5 separate regions of the Homo sapiens genome follow, and regions 1, 3, 4 and 5 are each linked to region 2. The links are contacts of gene promoters, found by promoter capture Hi-C in blood cells and fetal thymus (Javierre and others, 2016). All regions are on one chromosome and are shown on one strand. The core of a region is centred on a gene start or on the middle of the fragment in contact, and the rest is flanking DNA. Distances in the headings are between cores, read along the strand shown. Region 1 holds the start of GNB3 (G protein subunit beta 3). Region 2 holds the start of NOP2 (NOP2 nucleolar protein). Region 3 holds the start of LRRC23 (leucine rich repeat containing 23). Region 4 overlaps LOC105369632 (a long non-coding RNA gene). Region 5 has its middle 13 kb from the start of PLEKHG6.

What was found. Contacts are between HindIII fragments. The CHiCAGO score rates a contact against its expected background, and 5 or more counts as called.
Region 1: a contact is called between the fragment with the promoter of GNB3 here and the fragment with the promoter of NOP2 in region 2, in 14 of 17 cell types (naive CD4 T cells, activated CD4 T cells, total CD4 T cells and 11 more). The highest score is 24.0, in naive CD4 T cells.
Region 3: a contact is called between the fragment with the promoter of LRRC23 here and the fragment with the promoter of NOP2 in region 2, in 10 of 17 cell types (non-activated CD4 T cells, activated CD4 T cells, naive CD4 T cells and 7 more). The highest score is 12.8, in non-activated CD4 T cells.
Region 4: a fragment that was not itself captured here is called in contact with the fragment with the promoter of NOP2 in region 2 in 3 of 17 cell types (activated CD4 T cells, non-activated CD4 T cells and naive CD4 T cells); the score reaches 8.9 in activated CD4 T cells.
Region 5: a fragment that was not itself captured here is called in contact with the fragment with the promoter of NOP2 in region 2 in 1 of 17 cell types (non-activated CD4 T cells); the score reaches 6.1 in non-activated CD4 T cells.

What each region holds. Positions count from the first base shown.
Region 1 is chr12:6,839,535-6,842,325 of GRCh38, forward strand. It overlaps GNB3 (G protein subunit beta 3), which reads left to right and starts at 1,391. Exons shown (of 10, transcript NM_002075.4): 1 at 1,391-1,499; 2 at 1,724-1,810; 3 at 2,052-2,090. The coding sequence starts at 1,754. P3H3 (prolyl 3-hydroxylase 3) reads left to right here. Exons shown (of 15, transcript NM_014262.5): 15 at 1-313. The HindIII fragment of the contact is 12,557 bases long and covers 1-2,791 here.
Region 2 is chr12:6,566,847-6,569,546 of GRCh38, forward strand. NOP2 (NOP2 nucleolar protein) reads right to left here and starts at 1,445. Exons shown (of 16, transcript NM_001258308.2): 1 at 1,361-1,445; 2 at 970-1,076. The coding sequence starts at 1,072. It overlaps CHD4-AS1 (CHD4 antisense RNA 1), which reads left to right and starts at 1,525. Exons shown (of 3, transcript NR_199067.1): 1 at 1,525-2,684. RefSeq lists enhancers at 1,295-1,916, 1,740-1,789. The HindIII fragment of the contact is 18,468 bases long and covers 1-2,700 here.
Region 3 is chr12:6,903,372-6,906,071 of GRCh38, forward strand. LRRC23 (leucine rich repeat containing 23) reads left to right here and starts at 1,451. Exons shown (of 8, transcript NM_001135217.2): 1 at 1,451-1,704; 2 at 2,214-2,388; 3 at 2,474-2,583. The coding sequence starts at 2,263. The HindIII fragment of the contact is 20,869 bases long and covers 1-2,700 here.
Region 4 is chr12:6,884,186-6,886,885 of GRCh38, forward strand. The region is part of intron 1 of LOC105369632 (a long non-coding RNA gene); the gene reads right to left. It also overlaps the pseudogene RPL13P5 and the pseudogene DSTNP2. Among named protein-coding and RNA genes, the nearest start is that of SPSB2, 12 kb to the left of the region's middle. RefSeq lists enhancers at 1-322, 1,969-2,516. The HindIII fragment of the contact is 559 bases long and covers 972-1,530 here.
Region 5 is chr12:6,295,861-6,298,580 of GRCh38, forward strand. No RefSeq gene overlaps it. Among named protein-coding and RNA genes, the nearest start is that of PLEKHG6, 13 kb to the right of the region's middle. RefSeq lists an enhancer at 1-293. The HindIII fragment of the contact is 3,241 bases long and covers 1-2,720 here.

The DNA of each region.
Region 1 (2,791 bases), core at 141-2,640, 270 kb after region 2:
AAGCCCCTGTGTGACATCAGGAGCAGAACAGCAAGCTCTCTGTCCCTGCACCCCCACCATCTTGGGGACCTACAAGGGCCTGGACTCAGAGGACAGTGCACAGGCTAGCCTGGAGCTCACCAGGCCTGGGGAGCTGGGACGGGGCCCCGCTGCCGGACCTGCAGCCCTGGACAGATGGGGAACACTGTGCCTCCCTGAACAGAAATGGCAGGGGAGGAGGCTGATGCTTTAAATGAAGAGGATGGTGGGGTTGGGAGGTATAACCCTGCTCCTCTCTCCCAGTCTGTGCAATAAAGGTCGTGAAGATCTCTCAGCCAGGGGCCAGTCAAGTGTATCACAGATTCTGTGATGGCTGGAGGTGGGGGTGGCTCTGGCTGGCCTGGGAGGAGACAGGTGTCTTTGGGCCTCCCAGAGGCGGGGCGCCTGGAGCCTGTGATTTGTCAGGGAAATCTCAGCCACCTGCTCCCCTCATGCAAATGACCCAAGCCCCTGGCAGCTGCTCCTTAGGCCTCCAAGTGTAAGCCCTGTCTTCCCTCTCTGAGCTTTGCTGAGACTTAGGGCCGCCTGCTTTCTCTCTGACCCCTGCTTTCACAGCCTCGAGAGGGCAAGGAGGGGGCCAGACCCCAGCCTGGGAGCAGCGTGCGGGCCTTCCCTCCACTTGAAATCCGTTGCCCGCCCACAATAGGGGCAGACCTGTCCATCCTTCTCTGTGGGTCCCCTGTACCTTTCTCCCCCAACAGGATCAGACCCAGAGGCAGCTGGTTGGGGTTTGTCGAGAAGAAGGATTATCCAGATCAGTCCTTTCTAATCTCAGCTCCTGCCTGTACCCTCCCATACTCACCAAACCCTCTTCCCCACCACCCTGAGCTGAGGAGCACAGTTTGAGGTACTGACAATGGGGCCATCTATCACCCTTATATCCCACCTCCTGGCCTGGTTGCTAAGTGGCCCTGACTGCCAAGATCATCACCATGGATGGGGGCCGGGACCAGGGGGGCCACTGGAGCTGTAGTTGTCTGCTCCTTTGCACCCCTCCCAAACCCCAACCCTTAATCCTCACAGCTTTGCTCTAATCCTGTGGGGCCTGATGCTCTTATCTCTGCCTGCAGAGACTGACCAGGGAAGCACCCCTTCACCCCCTCCTCTCTCAGGGCTTGTGGTGGGGGCTGCCCCTCTCTATGGCCCCACACTCCTGCCCCCAACCCTCCTCCCGGCTGGGCCCAAGTCTCTCTGGAATCCGTACACCTCCCTCCCTCCCCCCACCCCTTCCCCCCACCCCTGCCAGCTGATTTCATTTGCCTGACGTTGTGGTTGGCTCTACCCTTCCCTGTCAGGCCCCCCCAACCCCCCGCCGGTCGGGGCCAGGCCAGGCCAGGCCAGCTCCTCTGGCAGCAGAGCCTGGGCAGGTGACGGGCGGGCGCGGGCGTCGCAGCTGAGGGAGTAAGGAGGCTCCCAGGAACCGGAGCTGGAAACCCGGCCGAGGTCCAGCCAGAGCCCAAGTAAGAGGGAGCTGGCCTGGGCTCTGCTCTCCTGGGCTGGGGCGCAGGCAGGGCTCAGGCAGGCTGGGGCTGGACGCAAAGGACCTCAAACTTGGAGGGCCTAGCTGGGGAGAGGGTGCAGCCACCCAGTCGTTTCCCTGTGTCTTGGAGTCTGGTGTGGGCACGAAGGGCAGAAGCACAGCCTGGTGGGGGGTTCCTCAACACCGACCCCATGTTCCTGGCAGGAGCCAGAGTGACCCCTCGACCTGTCAGCCATGGGGGAGATGGAGCAACTGCGTCAGGAAGCGGAGCAGCTCAAGAAGCAGATTGCAGTAACTCCAGAGCCCTACCCCTGGGGCCCCAGAAAACAGCTGGGGACATGAGGAGCGTGGCCCAGGGGGAGGGGGCTGGGTTTGCTCTTGAGTGACTAGAAGTGACCAGGGACTTTCTAAACTTGGTTCGCATATTTGAGACCCCCAAGCCCCAGAGCCCCAAGACCAACCTGCCCTGAAGGCCCATGCACCTGCCACCCCCACCTCGCCCTTGCTCCCCTGATGTCTGCTTTCCCTGCAGGATGCCAGGAAAGCCTGTGCTGACGTTACTCTGGCAGAGGTAAGACCCCCTGTCCCCCGGAAGGCAGGGCATGGGGGGAGGGGAAGGGAGCTCCCCGACCCGCAATAGCGCGTTGCTCCGAGCATTAGTACAGCACGTCCTTGGAGTGAGGAAACCCATTAATTAATTCATTCGACCAACATTTTAGCGGGACCTGCTCTGAGCCAGGCACCATATTGGATGCGAAAGATGCGGACACGGTTCCTATTCTCATCCGTAGAACAAGAGTGACCACAGCCCCCTCCCAGGGCCTTGAAGATGAAGAAGCGATAGTACTTTGTAAATTATAAAGCCCTTGTAGACTCTAGCTGCTAGTTTTCTATGCTGTATTTTGTCAATTCTAAGATGCACATTTCTTCACATTTTGACATCTCTGAAATCAAGGTGCATTCAGCAATGGATCATTGTTTCAATTAGAATTGACAGCATCTTTTCTTTCTTAGTGATGCATCTTAGATTGGATTAAATATGTTAATAGTGAACACTTTTTATGAGCCAGATACTGGGCTAAGCTGCATAAATACCTGATTTCATTGAATTTTCATGATATCTCTGTAAGGTAGGTGCTATGATAAGCCTCATTTTACACCTTGAGTAAACAGACTCAGGGAGGTGAAGCAACTTGCCCAAGATAACAAAGCAGGCCGGGCGCAGTGGTTCACGCCTGTAATCCCAGCCCTTTGGGAGACTGACGTGAAAGG
Region 2 (2,700 bases), core at 195-2,694:
AGAACAAGTTACAGGGGACATTAAAAATAAATGGGAACGGAAATAAACATGGTAAGAGAATTAGTACACTAATTAAAAGGAGTCCATTTAAATCTCAGCCCTGTTATTATTTAATAACTGTATACAAGTTTCTTTTTTTTTTTTGAAATGGAGTTTCACTCTTGTCTTCCAGGCTGGAGTGCAATGGCGTGATCTCAACTCACTGCAACCTCCTTCTCCCAGATTCAAGCGATTCTATTGCCTCAGCCTCCCATCACCACACCCAGCTAATTGTTGTATTTTTAGTAAAGACAGGGTTTCACCATGTTGGCCAGGCTGGTCTCGAACACTGGACCTCAGGTGATCCACCTGCCTCGGCCTCCCAAAGTGTTTCCTTAATAGTGCCTCTCTCACAGGACTCTAAGATGATTAAGCGATATAACATGACCAACAAGTTTAATACAGTGCCCAGGACTTCCTACTATCTCAATAAACTGCATCCTTTATCCAATGCCCAACACAAACTCCCGGTCCAGTGTTACCTCCCACCAGTCTTCCACACAGTATACTACTACTCGGCATGAAGCAGCCAGATCCGTGCTTTTCCATTTCCACCCCTTCCAAAAGGCAAATCAGTGACTGACCCCTCCCCTTCACTACTTCCTCTTGCTACAATGTTACCCATTTTTCAAAACCCAGCTTAACAAAAACTTTTACAGTTCTGCATGGGCTCCCCCTTCCTCTGAACTCACAATTGTTTTAAATCACACTTTTCCCTTGCATGAATAATAGTTGTGTCCGTGTCTTCACATCTCTACGACCTAAACAGTTCCCTACAATCTAAACGGCTGTTTCATTCATACCTCCTAGTAACTCATACAGAGAAGATTCCACTTAAATATAAAATGAACAGAAACTAAAAAAGAGAAGAGGTTATAATACAGAATACTGCAAAAGCTGAGGGATCAGGAGGCCACAACTAATCCTTACCTGCAGGCAAGAATCTGACGAGTTCTGTCTCGGCACCCTTCTGCTTCCGGGCCTTTCGGCCTGGCCCCCGCTTCTCCTTCGTAGGGTCCAACTTGCGCCCCATGGTACTGTGGCAGGCAGAAATGGGAGAAGGTGGCGTCGCGCGTGTCGGAGGGAACGGCAGAACGCACGCTTGGCGTATTATAGTGGGAAAGGGCACAGCCTCAACTCAGCACCCGCAACTCACTCAGCACTCCCGACTCAGCACCCGCGACTCAAGCACCCCCGCTATCCCCCTGGAGGCCCGACCGAACGCCCTCCCACCTGAAACCCAGGTAGCGCACCCTTCTCCCCACGTCCCAGACCAGGTCAGTGCTGCCACTCTTCGTCCCCCAATTTCCTCTAGACCCACCAGAATGCGGGTTAATGTCCGAGAGTGCCCTTCGGGCGGCCCTCCACGTGCAATCCGGACCTAGCTTTCGGCCGGCACTCGCCACAGAATCGTTCCACGCAGGCGCACGGGTAGCGCTAGCCTCGCGGCCCCGCCTCTTCCTGTTGCGCCTAGTCGGCCGCCGCACCCGGAACTTACGCTCGCCCTGGGAACGCCAGCGGAGCCGGCGGCGGCGAGTAGGGGGCAATTCGAAGGAGACGCGCAGCTTACACCCGCGGCGGGTGGAGGGAGCAATGTGACGAAACCATTGAGCTTGACCGACCTTCCCTCATGGAGTTGGCTTTTAGCCTCACGGCCGGTTTCTGTTGGGTGAAAGCCGCACCTTCTCCTCGAACCAGGGCCCGACATTGGAGCCCTCTCCCTCGCATCCACTGCCCTAGTCCAGCGTCAAGATCACGGAATTCCAGGCTGGGCGCAGTGGCTCACGCCTGTAATCCCAGCACTTTGGGAGGCTGAGGTGGGTGGATCACTTGAGGTCAGGAGTTCGAGACCAGCCTGGCCAATATGGTGAAACCCTGCTTCTACTAAAAATACAAAATTAGCCGGGCGTGGTGGCGGGCGCCTATAATCCCAGCTACTCGAGAGGCTGAGGCAGAATTGCTTGAGCCCGGGAGGCGGAGGTTGCAGTAAGCCGAGATCGTGCCACTTAAGCCTCACCAAGAGCGAAACTCCACCTCAAAAAAAAAAAACAAAAAAACCAGCCGGGCTCGGTGGCTCACGCCTGTAATCCCAGCACTTTGGGAGGTCGAGGCGGGCGGATCACGAGGTCAAGAAATCCGAGACCATCTTGGCCAACCTTGTCTCTATTAAAAATACAAAAATTAGTTGGGCATGGTGGCTGGCGCACGCGTGTAGTCCCAGCTACTCGGGAGGCTGAGGCAGGAGAATCGCTTGAACCCGGGAGGGGGAGGTTGCAGTGAGCTGAGATCGCGCCACTGTACTCCAGCCTGGCAACAAAGCGAGACTCCATCTCAAAACAAACAAACAAAAAAAACCGTGGAATTCCATGCCACTTACCTCCTCCTCTTTGCCCCTTTTTTAAAAATCTTTTTATAGAGACGGGTTGTAGGGGGTGGCGTCTCACTATATTGCCAGGGCTGGTCTAGAACTCCTGGGCTTAAGCGATCCTCCTGCCCCCACCTTTGTGCTGAGATTACAGGCTGTGAGCCACCGTGCCCCGCCCTCCCAGCACCTTCCTTGATGCTGACCCCTGCTCAGCCCCTCAATTAAGGTGCTGCACTGCACCTCATTCGCAGGGGGCCTCTTCGCCGGAACTCGCTTTCAGGTGGGTCTACAATTAG
Region 3 (2,700 bases), core at 201-2,700, 340 kb after region 2:
GTGTCTTCCTCTTTCTTCTTGGCCAAGGAAACTCATATCCATTTCTTTTGACTACATCAAACCACATGGATTTTTCCCTTCTCCACACTCCAACAATACAATAACTTTCATTTGTATAGCACATCTCACTCTTCAGAGTGTTCATATTTATTATTTCTTTTTCCTCACAGCAACCCCAGTACCAAGGACACAGGCCAGGGGTGGGGAGGAGCAGGAAAATGTTTACTAAGGGTCAACTAAGTGCAAGGCGATTTACCCACATTATCTCTTTTAATCCCTTAACAATCCTTACAGGTGGACGTTTTAATAATCCCCATTTCACGACTGTGGAAATTAGACCTCAGTAAGATTTCATAACCTGCTGAAGGACACACAGGTATTAAGTAGTAGAGATGGGTTTTGAAGCTGGTGTCTCTGACTTTAAAGTCCCTACTGGTTCCATGACACCAAGTAAACAGATTTGCCTATTAACCACATTCCTCCAAGCTGCCCTGGGCAGGAGGTAATATAATACTTCCTGATTTCTTGCCCACCACATCTTCCACCAGACCACTTTGCCGTTATATAAAGTCTGTGGGCACAATTTAACAATGAATCACATGCCATCTTACCTGGTTACCTCATTGTTTCATTTACATTAGATTCCACAACAAGATTGGTAACATCCCCCTTTCCCCAGGCAGGAATTGTGTCATCTTAACCTCCCTGAGCCTCAGTATCCTCTTCTTTCAAATGTCTATCTTACAGGACTGTTGCAGAGATTAAATATCAGTTGTAAAGATGTTTGACATAATGTCTCGCACAAACTCTCCAGAAATATTTATTGCATCTCAACATCTTTTTCATCTCCTTCAACATGTCAGACAGGCCTGAGTGCCTGGGTTTGGCTATGCCAGTTCCTGTTGATTACTGATATAACAACGTTGGATCAGGAGTATTTTAGTGGGCAGATGTTGAATTTTCTGCCTTCCACCCACTAAAAGGTTTGCATCAAACCAGTCCAGGATAACTCATACTGGATCCCTGTCAGTTGATATAGTTAAGCTAATTCTACAGATAACAAAGAGTCTTGGGTACGTTTAGCTAGCAAATGCAGATCTGCCAAGACTCCAACCCAGTTCTTAAGGTATCTGGGTCTGGACTCCTTCCGCTCCACCAAGCCACCTTCCAAAGGTCTACCTGAAAATAACTAATGAGCAGAAACTATAGGGGGAAGGGGAAAAGACCCCTTATCTTGGTGTTTCTTGCTTTTCCTCGCAGCCCCGCCCTTTTTGCTTCGAAGGACGAGTTTTTCCTGAATTCACAATACTTTTGCATTGAAGATGTCCGGTCCCTTTAAGGTCTTGGGTGACGTAATGACTAGCCCCGCCCCCTCTCTTCTCGCTTCTCAGCCCTGCCCACTTCTTTTTGTCCTCAGCCAATTAGCGGCCCAACGCCCCTTCCGCGCCTCATCCGGGTTCCCGGGACGGGAAAGTGGCGTGGTAACCAGGCAACTACTGATCAATCCCCTCCCCGGCTGATTTGCGCATCAGGTAGTCGCCGCTCTACTCTCAACGGTGGCGAGCTGCAGTTGCCAAGTGCCCCGTCCCCGTTGCCATAACAGCAGTACACAACCCCTCCTTCCCCTCGCCCGCTTGCTAAACAGTCCTTCCCTCTCGGGACCAAGGGCCTCTCCAGAACTGCTTCTGATTGAGCAGAAACAGGGTCTGAGCCCCTTTGCTAAGGCGAATTGAGTGGGAGGGTTGGAGACTGCGCTTTAGGCTGGTGTACCAGAGGGCCCAAGGAAATTGGCCCAGTGGGGAGGGAAAAGTAGAAGAAATGAATGGAGCAGGGATTACGGATGGCGCAATGGGAGCTGAGAGGAGAGGAGGAGGAATTGGTAGGGAAGATTGGAGAGCATGGCTTAAGGGGGAGGTGGGAAGAATGGGGGAGAGGGAAGCCCAGGAAATAGGGACACCCGGCTGCTGGAGGAGAGCTGGAGTCACTGTGAAGGACAGGAAAGGCCTGGGGGTGTGGGTGACATCCTGAAGGGAGGGGGTCCTCAGTGGAAAGTGTGAAGTGGGAGTTGAGAATCAAAATGAGATGTTCACAGGGATAAGGAAAGAAGCCTAGAGTTGGTGGGTCAGAAGTCATGGGGGTGATGGGAGTGGCACGTGTCAATGACGATGAAGGAGCTGAAGGCTGGCAGAAGCTGATGAGACCTTCTTTTTCAGGAGGAGGACTGAGCTTATCTGACTCCAGAGCTTTCAGGAGGGAAGAAAGATGTCAGATGAAGATGATCTAGAAGACTCTGAGCCAGACCAGGATGATTCTGAGAAAGAAGAGGACGAGAAGGAGACAGAGGAGGGGGAGGACTACAGAAAAGAGGGGGAAGAGTTCCCTGAGGAAGTGAGAGCCTGGACAAGGAGGGGTCCTAGGGCTGAAGGAGGGGGTTGGGCAGGGGAGAGACACCTTACTCCACTTCTACCTGCAGTGGCTGCCCACCCCCCTCACGGAGGACATGATGAAGGAAGGGCTTTCTCTGCTCTGTAAGACAGGCAATGGGCTGGCTCATGCTTATGTCAAGCTGGAGGTTAAAGAGAGGTGCGTTTTGGGGGGACCAGATGAGGACTGTGAGACTGTAGGGCCCCTATCTCCTTTCCCACTGTCATTCCTGGGTGTTCTGGTTGAGAGTTTGACTCTTCTCATGCCTAGTGGAAA
Region 4 (2,700 bases), core at 1-2,500, 320 kb after region 2:
TACAAAGCACAAGCTGGCAGGGGCCTCAGCTTGGAGGAGTTAAGGGTGGCTGGCATTTACAAGAAGGTGGCCCAGACCATTGGCATCTCTGAGGATGCAAGGAGGAGGAACCAGTCCACCCAGGCCCTGCAGGCCAAGGTGCAGAGGCTGAAGGAGGACCGCTCCTCACTCATCCTCTTCCCCAGGAAGCCCTTGGCCCCCAAGAAGGGAGACAGTTCTGCTGAAGAACTCGAACTGGATACTCAGCTGACAGGACCAGAAATGCCCATCGGCAATGTCTACAAGGAGAAAGCCAGAGTCATCGCTGACTAGGAGGAAAACTTCCAGGCCTTGTTAGTCTCTGTATGGCCCATGCAAATGCCCAGCTCTTCGGCATATAGGCACAAAGAGCCAAGGAAGCTGTAGAAGAGGACGCTTAAAAAAAAAAAAAACGGGTAGGCTCGAGCCGCTGCATCAGCTTCGCGCTGGGTCTCTCGGTCCCGCAGCCATGAGGAGGACGCTGCCCAGACTCACTACCCGCCCTCTCAGTCCCGCAGCCACGAGGAGGACGCTGCCCAGACTCACTACCCGCCGGCTCCCTCCCCCGCGTCCCTGTGGTGGTGGGCGAAGATGACCTGTTGTGCATCAGATGCCTTTGAGACATACAACTGGAGATGTGAGATAGGAAATTGAATGTAAAGACTGGAAGCTCGGCAGAGCAGAACTCTGAACAACGTGCCTCAGGAGTGCAAGTTGCTGATGAAGTGTGTCGCATTTTTTATGACATGAGAGTTCGTAAATGCTCCACACCAGAAGAAATCAAGAAAAGAACAAAGGCTGTCATTTTTTTGTCTCAGTGCAGACAAAAAGTGCATCATGTAGAAGGCAAAGAGATCTTGGTTGGAGATGTTGGTGTAACTATAAGTGAGCCTTTCAAGCATTTTGTGGGAATGCTTCCTGAAAAAGATTGTTGCTATGCTTTGTATGATGCAAGCTTTGAAACAAAAGAATCCAGAAGAATTGATGTTTTCTTGTGGGCATCAGAACTAGCACCTTTGAAAAGTAAAATGATCTATACAAGCTCCAAGGATGCAATCAAAAAGAAATTTCAAGGCATAAAACATGAATGGCAAACAAACGGACCAGAAGATCTCAATCGGGCTTGTACTGCTGAAAAGTTAGGTGGATCCTTTTTTTTTTTTTTTGAGATGGAGTCTTGATCTGTCGCCCAGGCTGGAGTGCAGTGACAGGATCTCGGCTCACTGCAACCTCTGCCTCCCGGGTTCAAGTGATTTTCCTGCCCAGCCTCCTGAGTAGCTGGGATTATAGCGTGCGCCACCACACCTGGCTAATTTTTGTATTCTTAGTAGAGTCAGGGTTTCACCATATTGGTCAGGCTGGTCTCGAACTCCTGACCTCGTGATTTGCCCTCCTTGGCCTCCCAAAGTGCTGGGATTACAGGCGTGAGCCAGCATGCCTGGCCAGTGGATCCTTAATTGTAGCCTTTGAAGGATGCCCTGTGTAGATCATCATTCAGTGCCACAAATTGAAAGCTTCCACGTTTAATGTTATCCTCTTGCTATATAAATAAAGCAAATATATTTAGGCCAGGGTCTCACTGAGGGGAGCTGTCTTGTCATCTTTTAGAGTAAACTAAATACTCTATAAACATATGCAAACAGCCCTAAATATATCTGTAGGGGTGGGTTGCCCCTCCACACCTGTGGGTGTTTCTCGTAAGGTGGGACGAGAGACTTGGGAAAGAAAAAGACACAAAGTATAGAGAAAGAAATAAGGGGACCCGGGGAAGCAGCGTTCAGCATATGGAGGATCCTGCCAGCCTCTGAGTTCCCTTAGTATTTATTAATCATTTGTGGGTGTTTCTCGAAGAGGGGGATGTGTCAGGGTCACAAGACAATTGTGGGGAGAGGGTCAGCAGACAAACACGTGAACAAAGGTCTTTGCATCATAGACAATGTAAAGGATTAAGTGCTGTGCTTTTAGATATGCATACACATAAACATCTCAATGCTTTACAAAGCAGTATTGCTGCCCGCAGGTCCCACCTCCAGCCCTAAGGCGGTTTTTCCCTATCTCAGTAGATGGAGCATACAATCGGGTTTTATACCAAGACATTCCATTGCCCAGGGACAGGCAGGTGACAGATGCCTTCCTCTTGTCTCAACTGCAAGAGGCATTCCTTCCTCTTTTACTAATCCTCCTCAGCACAGAACCTTTACGGGTGTCGGGATGGGGGATGGTCAGGTCTTTCCCTTCCCACGAGGCCATATTTCAGACTATCATATGGGGAGAAACCTTGGACAATACCTGGCTTTCCTAGGCAGAGGTCCCTGCGGACTTCCGCAGTGTTTGTGTCCCTGGGTACTTGAGATTAGGGAGTGGTGATGACTCTTAAGGAGCATGCTGCCTTCAAGCATCTGTTTAACAAAGCACATCTTGCACCGCCCTTAATCCATTTAACTCTGAGTTGACACAGCACATGTTTCAGAGAGCACGGGGTTGGGGGTAAGGTTATAGATTAACAGAATCTCAAGGCAGAAGAATTTTTCTTAGTACAGAACAAAATGGAGTCTCCTATGTCTACTTCTTTCTACACAGACACAGTAACAATCTGATCTCTTTTGCTTTTCCCCACATATATCTAAAGTCTAAAGTTGTTTTTTTAAAAAAAAAAAAGAAAAGAAAAGAAAAGAAAAAAGA
Region 5 (2,720 bases), core at 67-2,566, 270 kb before region 2:
ACCCTGTCTCTACTAAAAATACAAAAATTAGCTGGGCGTGGTGGCAGGCGCCTGTAATCCCAGCCACTCGGGAGGCTGAGGCAGGAGAATTGCTTGAACCCAGGAGGCGGAGGTTACAGTGAGCCGAGATCTCACCACCGCACTTCAGCCTGGGTGGGAGAGTGAGACCCCAGAAAAGATGAGATCTTATTTCTCCCTCACATAGTCTGAAGACGGAGCACTTTCCATGGAGTGCTGATGAAGTGCCAGGGTCCTAGGCTCCTTCTGGTGTGCCACCCCTCGGACAAGTCTCTCAGCCTCAAGGTCCAGGATGGCAACATCTGTCCAAACAGCAAGATGGAGAACAGGACAGGATAGGAACGAAGTAGGAGAGGGGCCAAGGACTCATGCTGGCATCCCGCCAGCCTTTTGACACGAGTCACCCTTCCGCCACTTTATAAAAAAAGGTAGGCCTCTTATCAGTGGTAGGCAATAGCAGGGTAGTGAAAACCGTTTCCCCACCACCGCCAAGGCAGGGAATAGAGGCTGCATTGTCCTTAGAGAATTGTAAATGAGTAAGCAACCGAAAGTTCTTTGTTATCCCCTGGGCCAGCAATCCTAAACAATGTCAGTGATAAAACATTCCTCCCTGAAAAAGTATTTTATTGGTCTAAGTTCTAAATCTAAATAAATGCTGTCATTACCACTGAGTTTTAATTATATGTGAACTTCGGCCGGGCACAGTGGCTCACGCCTGTAATCCCAGCACTTTGGGAGGCCAAGGCAGGTGGATCACCCGAGGTTAAGAGTTCGAGACCAGCCTGGCCAACATGGTGAAACCCCATCTCTACTAAAAATACAAAAATTAGCCAGGCATGGTAGTGCACGCCTGTAATCTCAGCTACTCAGGAGGCTGAGGCAGGAGAATCACTTGAACCTAGGAGGCAGAGGTTTCAGTGAGCCGAGATTAGGCCACTGCACTCCAGCCTGGGTGACAGAGTGAGACTCCATCTCAAAAATAAATAAATAAATAAATAAAATGTGAACTTCAATTTAACTTGTTTTTATAACTTAGCATTTAAATAACATTATCGGCCGGGCAAGGTGGCTCACGCTTGTAATCCCAGCACTCTGGGAGGCCGAGGCAGGTGGATCATGAGGTCAGGAGATGGAGACCATCCTAACACGGTGAAACCCCATCTCTACTAAAAATACAAAAAATTAGCCGGGCGTGGTGGCGGGCGCCTGTAATCCCAGCTACTCGGGAGGCTGAGGCAGGAGAATGGCGTGAACCCGGGAGGCGGAGCTTGCAGTGAGCCGAGATCGCGCCACTGCACTCCAGCCTGGGCGACAGAGTGAGACTCAGTCTCAAAAAAAAAAAAAAAAAAAAAAAGATAAATAACATTATCTCCTATGCAGAAATGAAAGCTGAAAACTCGTTATTCAGTGGGCCCCCGACACCCGCAGACTCAGCTCCATGTGTTTCTTACTTCTGGCTGGTCAGTGCCTCCGTTCGTGTGGAGCTGCTATGGAAGCAGGAGCTTGGGAGAGCCAGAGTGACACCATTTTACACTCAACTCCATCTTTTTGTTTTGTTTTGTTTTTTAATTTAGAGATAGGGTCTCCCCGTGTTGCCCGGCTGGTCTCAACTCCTGGTCTTAAGTAATCCTCCCGACTCGGCCTCCCAAAGTGCTGAGATTATAGGTATGAGCCACAGCACCTGGCCAATCAACTCCCATCTTAAAACTAGAAAGGCACACACACACAAAAAGCTAGAAAGGCACACTCCTTGCTGGTCACAGCCTATAGTCATGGTGTGTTTACAGTTGAGGAAACAGTCTAAAGATGCCTACAAAGACACCCTCCGACAACAATGGAGAGTCCACATGTCCCGATACTCGTATCAACATATGCTCTGAAGATAATCATAGTTACACCTTGATGTATTAATACTTACACACTAAAACGTCAAGGACAGTTTTCTTTAAATCAACAGAGTAATAAACTCTCTCATGCAGTCTGCTCACCCACATGTAGAAACAGCTTAGTTTAACCTTTACATCGACAAGACCCCTATACGAGAAAAACTTAAAACAAAGCCGGGGCAGTCCTCTGCTGGCTTTCTGAGGACGCCCTCCTGTGTAACAGGATAGCTTTCAATAAACTTTCTTCTTACTGCACTCTGTGACTCGCCTTGAGTTATTTCCTGCACGAGATCCAAGAACCCTCTGGGCTCTGGATCAAGACCCTTTTTTCCACTAACAGAACCACGTTATCTCTGCCTTTCAAAGGTAGATTCAAAAGACACAATGATAGTGCCCTGATTGCAAAGACAAAGGAATAACTTGAGTTATTTTTCTCTTATCTACTTGGACTTTGTATTTGTGTTAAAAATTCAAAACAGTGAAAAGGAGGCCGGGTGTGGTGGCTCACACCTGTAATCCCAGCACTTTGGGAGGCCACGGTGGGAGGATCACTTGAGGCCAAGAGTTCAAGACCTGCCTGGCCCACATGGCGAAACCCTGTCTGTACTAAAAATACAAAAATTAGCTGGGCATGGTGGCGCACGCATGTAATCCCAGCTACTCGGGAGGCTGAGGCATGAGACCTACTTGAACCCAGGAGGCGGAGGTTTCAGTGATCAAAAAAAAAAAAAAGCAGTGAGATAGAAGGCAAATTACAAGTTGTAATATTTTTGTTTTATGAGGGCCAATATGAAAACTTCAATTCATGATTATTGC